Linked DNA regions of Homo sapiens: region 2 is linked to region 1. The links are contacts of gene promoters, found by promoter capture Hi-C in blood cells and fetal thymus (Javierre and others, 2016). All regions are on one chromosome and are shown on one strand. The core of a region is centred on a gene start or on the middle of the fragment in contact, and the rest is flanking DNA. Distances in the headings are between cores, read along the strand shown.

Region 1 (3,335 bases), core at 8-2,507:
CAAATCTGGAGCTTTCTCACCCTTATGGTAAGACATTTTTTCCCAGCCTCTAGAACCAAGAACTACTAAAAAAGTACATGCTCAGAATTCATGCCATATAATTTAGCCATTAAACAAACACTTGCACTGCATTCTCTGGCAGTACCTGGCACTGTGCTTGGGCCAGGGTTACAGTATTTACAGACAGCACCTTCTCTTACGGAGCTTACAATCCAGCATGGGTAAAGACTTCAAGCAAATGTATACTGTGGCATTTCTAAAAACTACTCTGTTAAATTTTAAAACCTTTTGTAACCTCCTACCAAAAAAAAAAAAAAAAAAGAAAAAGAAAAAAACTAAAACTAAGGAACAGATTTCAAACCACTTAAAAATACAGCTTTCCTCCCCGTTGCTAAAAGTGGCTTTCTTGGGCCAGGTGCGGTAGCTCATGCCTGTAACCCCAGCACTTTAGAAAGCCAAGAAGGGAGGATCACTTGAGCCCAGGACTTCCAGACCAACCTGGGCAACATAGGGAGACCTCCGTCTCTATTTTTAAAAAACGGTGGGCGAGGGAGCAATATCTAAAATCACATACATGCCTTTTTCCAGTTCTGACTTGCTCATAGTCTCTGCACACGTTTATGATAAAGAATACTGTATTTGGCCGGGAGCGGTGGCTCACGCCTGTAATCCCAGCACTCGGGGACGCCGAGACAGGGCGATCGCCTGAGCTCAGGAGTTCGAGACCAGCCTGGGCAACATGGCAAAACCCCGTCTCTAATAATGAAAAAATACATACTGTATCGGGGCATCGCGGGGCACGGCGAGGGCAGTGCAGGGTCGAGGCGCCCGGTCCAGGCTGCGGCGCCGCTACTCACCTCTCCGAACTGGAAGGCGGAGACGATGGTGACAACGACGCCCAAGAAGCACACGTAGAGCCCATACCTGTGGGACAGGCAGGTATAGGTCTGTCTCTGCAGGAGCTTGAACAGCATCACCCCTTCACCGCCACGCCACGCCCCGAGGAGCCTGAGCCGCCGCCGCCGCCGCCGCCGCCTCAGCGAGCCGCCATTCAGGGGCCCCGGTCGGGCCGCCGCGCGCAGGTCACAGCCTCCGGGCGCCGCTCATTGCAGCTCCGGCGACGGACGCCCGCTCGGCTCCGCGCCGCGGCCGCCGCTTCCGGGAGCCGGGAGCCCACGCCCTCGGCGCGGCGGAGGCGGACCTGCGGCCGGCGAGGCGGCCGGCGCCGCCCGGGTCTGGCCGGGCGAGAGGCGGCTGCGGCGGCGGCGGGGTCTCCAGCGCCACCTGGAGGACGGAGGGGCATAGGGAAGGTGCGCGCCCTCCCCACCTGCGCTTGCGCAGCGGGCCCTGAGGGCTGGGCTGGGAGGGGCGGAGCTGAGCTGGGATCCACTTACCCGGTTGGGCAGGCGACCAAGAGAAAACTGCCCCCTGCGTCGAGACTGTGCCATAGACGGTACTATAATGCCATGAATATTTTTGTGCATAAAACCTTCTCTGCACTTAGCATTCTCTGCAGAGTGCTAAAAGGAGATGCTGTATGTGGCTCCTTTCCTCCAACCCCCAACTATATTGTTTGAAAGAGGAAACCTTTGGGTTAAATCTGCCAAAACCGAATTTCGTTCATTCATTTAGTCGTTAAATATGTAATTTGTGCCTGTTAGGTGGCATAGTGCTTGGTGTCAGGTATTCAAAAATGAACTAGACCTGGCTACTGTTCTCAGAGAGTCTAGTGGGGGAGATAAACATGTAAACCACTAAATACAAGAGTTGTTATGATAGAAATCATGCGATGAACTGGAGGGGAACCAGCTCAGGGGTGGCCAGGTAATCCGACTTTGACAGCAGGTTTTTCCCACGAGATCCTTTCCTTGGTGCCTCTGATTTACGAAAGGGAGATCTTTTTCTTAATCCCAATGCACCCTAGTCAATAAGATTTTTTTCCTAGTCACCCTGGGAAACAATACACTTATCTAATGTTGCCATCATTCAAAGCATTTTTAAAAATATCTTGGGAACCAGCTTCAGGAAATACTCAAATTCGCACCCTCAGTTTGATGGTCAGGTGGAATTAACAGACTTGCAAAAGGGGTTAGCTTCACTCCAATCCAAGGCAAGATTTTTTACACTTTGCAGTCACTTCTTTTAATCCTTCTTTTAAAAAAGATGATTGATATATGCTATATGTACATGGCAAAAGATTATTGCAGTTGTACAAGACACATATAGTTCTGAGGTCTTTTCAAGCATGATAACAGATCTGAGGACTTAATCAGAAGGGGTAAAAAAGCATGGTAACAGATATAAAAACATCTGCCACTCAACAGGACTCTCAGGATAATGGCCAACATTTATGTAGCATCTGCCATGTGCCCAGCTCATCTAATCCTCACAATAATCTTATAATGGAGATACCATTATTATCCCCATTCTACAGATCAAGAAACTGTGATGAAAAAAAGTAACTATCTAACATCACACAAATAGTAAATGACAGAATTGAGATTTGAACCAGGTACTTAGGCTGTAGAACAGGGCCAAGATTAGGGGAAGGTACTGTGAAATGAGTCATGCAAGTTTGGAGTGAGATTCTGTCTTTGTTTATAGTTTTGATATCGGGGCTGGGTGTGGTGGCTCATGCATGTAATCCCAATACTTTGGGAGGTCAATGTGGGAGGATAGCTTGAGCCCAGGAGTCTGGGAGCCCAGAAGTTTGAGACCAGCCTGGGTAACAGACCCTGTTCCTATTAAAATAAAAAAAAAATTTAAAACGTAAAATAAAACATAAAGTTTGGGTGTTTTGCTTTTCATGGATATTCTTCAGTAATGTTTTTTGTTTTTTTTGTTTTTTGGGTTTTTTTTTTTTTTTTGAGACAGAGTCTTGCTCTGTTGCCCAGGCTGGGTTGCAGTGGCGTGATCTCAGCTCACTGCAACATCCGCCTCCTGGCTTCAAGCAATTCTCCTGACTCAGCCTCCTGAGTAGCTGGGATTACAGGCACATGCCACCACCCCCGGCTAATTTTTGCATTTTTAGTAGAGATGGGGTTTCAGCATCTTGGTCAGGCTGGTCTTGAACTCCTGACCTCAAGTGATTCACCTGCCTTGACCTCCCAAAGTGCTAGGATTACAAGCATGAGCCACTGCGCCCAACCATTAATTTTGATTTTTTAAAAATATTGCATTAGGCTGGGCACGGTGGCTCACGCCTATAATCCCAGCACTTTGGGAGGCTGAGGCGAGTGGATCACCTGAGGTCAGGAGTCTGAGACCAGCCTGACCAACATGGAGAAACCCCATCTCTACTAAAAATACAAAATTAGCAGGGCATGGTGGCACAT
Region 2 (3,799 bases), core at 274-2,773, 270 kb after region 1:
AACAACTATATTACTGGCTTAGTGAATAGCTTAGGTAATTTAGTATTCCTTTATACAGTGATTTGGTTACATTCTAATATCTTATTCTTTATTTTTTATATGCCACCCTTCTCTCATTCTTTTAAAAAATGATCCCAGTTAGAACATGACAACTACAAATATTTCATGTTTTATAGAGAAAGTGAATGGCACATTATATGCACACCTATATTTTATTAAACTAAAAATTCCCTGGTTTCTAGAAGTCAGTTTTCTTTCACCATAAACTTTTATCTAATATTTTAAAAGATTATTGAGGGATGAGGAGGAGGGATGGGATTTACTACTGATATCCTTTGTAGTTACAGTGCGTACTAGGTCTTGTATTTCTTTTGTATCCCCCAAAGTACTGAATATTGGGTATACTAAATGTGTTTAATAAATACTTGTTGATCTGACTTGTTCTTACAGAATGGTACTGTTTCTAATATACAAGAACATCTGTTATTTGGCAATGACTGGGAATGAGATGTTCTGTATTAGTGAGTTTTAAAAAATAATAAGCTTAACCCACTAAATACTTAAATGACACTTTTACCTTCTTTTGGAGGAGGAGATAATAATTTTTTCTAAATGAATATGCACTTCTTTACCTCTCAAATACTGTAATAATTTTAGCCTTCTTTCAATGACACTAGGTCATAACTATGAACGTATTTATATTTTTCTGTGCATATGCATATACAAACACACACATAAAGCATCAGTATTTTTATCAACCTGTGTATATATGTGTGCATATATTTTTATATATACATGTATATGCATGTGAGTGCATCTGCATATGGTAGACATGATGAGGGATCATAAAGAAAATGGTGTAGAATATAAGGCTGAATGACTAGCAACCCCATGCTTTACTTGGGAATTTCTTTTATTAAACACATCTATCAGACGCTTGCTTTTTGTTTCAGTAATGGCACCTTTTTCATAAAGATACATATTTCTTCATCAAGATATATACTTGTCATACTTTTCATACAGAAAATATTGCAAGAATATTATCTTACTTTTTCAACTTGACATCCTATGATTTATCTTGCTATGTTATTCCTATTTTGATTACCTGTATTTCCCTATTTCTCTAATGAGATTTAATTTCATTGTATTACTACTAACATGAGCTTTTATCCTAAAACTGTAGATCTGCTCAGCGCTATGACACTGTAGAACTCCAGATGGCACTATTTACATTATACTCTACACAACTCATAAATCTCTACAACTGTGCAACTTGACTGCCTTGCCTCTGCCTTACATTTTCATGTTATCTTATTTTTCTGATATCCAGTCTTACTCATTGTAAAGAAGAAGAAAGACTACCTATGTCTTCATATGTAGTTGTTATCTGAGCTTATACACAATGCATTATTATTCTCTTTGTTTTCCTTTTATAGAATATATCATAAAATTAAGGGACGATAATAATTTTCTGTACTTATATATTTGGAAGGCTACATTTTCTGTGAGTTTCATTTAAAAAGGTGTGGTAGGCATTATAAAATGTTTGTTAGAAAGGCAGTGTTGGAACTGATAAAGACCAACTTTAATGAGAACCCAATTTTCTTATAAACTTGCACAGATCATAGAATAGTAAAATTAGATGGAGTCTTAGATAAAATGTAATCTATCATCTTCCATAATAACATTTTGTATTATCAGAGGTACCTTTGTTCACAGTACGACTCTTTATTCTGTTTGATTCAGAATTTGGCAATTTTCAATACAACACATACATTTCATGAACCTATTCAGGTCACAGATTGTTTTAAAATAGTGTTCCTAGGGCAAAATTCTGCTAGCTGATTATAATATAGTGTCTTTCTTGGAAATGTCAAAGTGAAACATCAGAAAATATGCATAGATCAAAATATTGAGGTTATTTTAAATTTTCTTAAGTAAGCACTGGGTCTGCTCTTTACAGTACAGAATACATATTGTAGAACTGCTCATATGATATACTCTCTTGTCACATATGTGATAATGTAAGAATATATATGTGATATTGTAAGAATCTTACATTATCACATATGTCCTCTTAGAATTCCTTCTTTCCTTGCTATGAGAGTGTATGATACTATCTACTCTTTCTCATTTTAAACTTGTTTTTATATACGTTCTGTTTTTAAAAAAATCTTACCTATATTGCTTAGGTTTTGGCCTAAGAGGTTTGGCTTTAATAACCAATCAGAGTTGTTTATTTTTGGTTGGTGAACTAAGCTGTAAATTCTAAAAATACTCCTAGTTTGATGTTGTGCATCAACCCGAAAATCTCGGTGGTTTACAGAAATAAGCATAAATTTCTTGCACATGGGTCTATGGGAAGCTCTGTTTCCATAATGCCATATGGGTCCATATCTGCTCCACGTGTTTCTCATTCTGGGATCAGTAGCTATCTAGGACATGCTCATCTCATAGCAAATGACAGAGCACAGGAGGTCAAGTCAAGCCAGGCAAAACATTTGAAGCTTCTGCTGTGTCACACCTGTTAATGCTACATTGGCCTAAACAATTCACAAAGCTAGGGCTAATTAGATGGGAAAATCTCCTTTCATGGGAAGGTGAAAGGAAAGCAAATATTTGTTGAACAATAATATCAACAACCAGTCTGGCAAAATGAGAAACTTAGAGGCAATGTAGTCAGGTTTTTAAAAAATTAAATTTATTTAAACTAAAAGACTTACTCTTTAGTTATTCCTTTCCTACTTTTTAGAGTAATAATGTCCTTTCTTTTACAAAATGATAGTGGTAGAAGGCAGTAAACTTAAGTCTTATATTCGACAAAATAAAAAGTTAGCAACCCTATGTCAGTCCCCTAAATTTTTAGAGAATTTTGCTAGTTTACAAAAAAAATCTCAGAGTCATAAGAAAACAAACAAACAAAAACATAGACTACTGAGTGTGATCCTAGGTCTCTCCGGCTTTCGTTCACTATTCAGAGGCCATTCCTTGGCTTGCAAAGACACTCATTTTTCCCCTTTGCAGGTTTCATTATTCCAAATGCTTGTGATTAGGAAAATCTATGTTTTAAAGAGCTGAAATGCCATTATTTATTTCCAGTGACCGAATTTTTACCTTAAAACGATTCCATTTACTCTTCAGGTCACTATACAAACTTGGTTTTGTAGTACCTGGGGCCCTAGAATCTTAATGTCATGTAAATCTTTCATATCTCTGACATGAAAATTTTAACAGGCAGTACATAAAGAATAATGGCCTATGACTCTATCACTTTAAAAAGATGAGCTATATTAAGAAGATTAAAAATTTAAAAAGTAGCTAGCAGCTTTACTTCTAATGTGAAGTCATACATATTTCATAGTTTTATATGTACATAAGTACTAATAAATACTAAGGATTTTGGCATAGTTTTATGAAACATTATGCAAAACAGCAGAGCAGCAGTTTTTCTCTCCCTCACAGTATCGTTAAAGCAAATGAAGCAACTGACACCCTTCCAATGACTGATGCACTCATTTCACTCCTGACTCCTCAGCTTATTTCCACCTGCTATTCTTCCTTTTCATCTTGTTCTTTATTTGTGATATTCTCCAGCTTTACACACTATTAAAATGTTATAGCTACCTCATCTGTTCTAAATTAGGGGGTGAGGTAGAAGAACATAATAGTTAAATGTATTGTATCTAAAGAAAACCTTATGCAGAAACCTCTGAATTTATCAAAACACTAAATTTTCCATCAATCTTATGTAGCAGATGAGAGTCATAGTTCATTATTCCACACAAACTTATCATACAGC

Evidence for each region. The method cuts DNA at HindIII sites, captures the fragments that hold promoters and counts their contacts. A CHiCAGO score of 5 or more calls a contact.
Region 2: a fragment that was not itself captured here is called in contact with the fragment with the promoter of GNPTAB in region 1 in 1 of 17 cell types (neutrophils); the score reaches 5.3 in neutrophils.

The regions. Positions count from the first base shown.
Region 1 is chr12:101,829,702-101,833,036 of GRCh38, forward strand. GNPTAB (N-acetylglucosamine-1-phosphate transferase subunits alpha and beta) reads right to left here and starts at 1,258. Exons shown (of 21, transcript NM_024312.5): 1 at 858-1,258. The coding sequence starts at 974. RefSeq lists silencers at 390-684, 1,041-1,440. The HindIII fragment of the contact is 15,537 bases long and covers 1-3,335 here.
Region 2 is chr12:102,094,656-102,098,454 of GRCh38, forward strand. The region is part of intron 5 of NUP37 (nucleoporin 37); the gene reads right to left. Among named protein-coding and RNA genes, the nearest start is that of NUP37, 24 kb to the right of the region's middle. The HindIII fragment of the contact is 1,964 bases long and covers 542-2,505 here.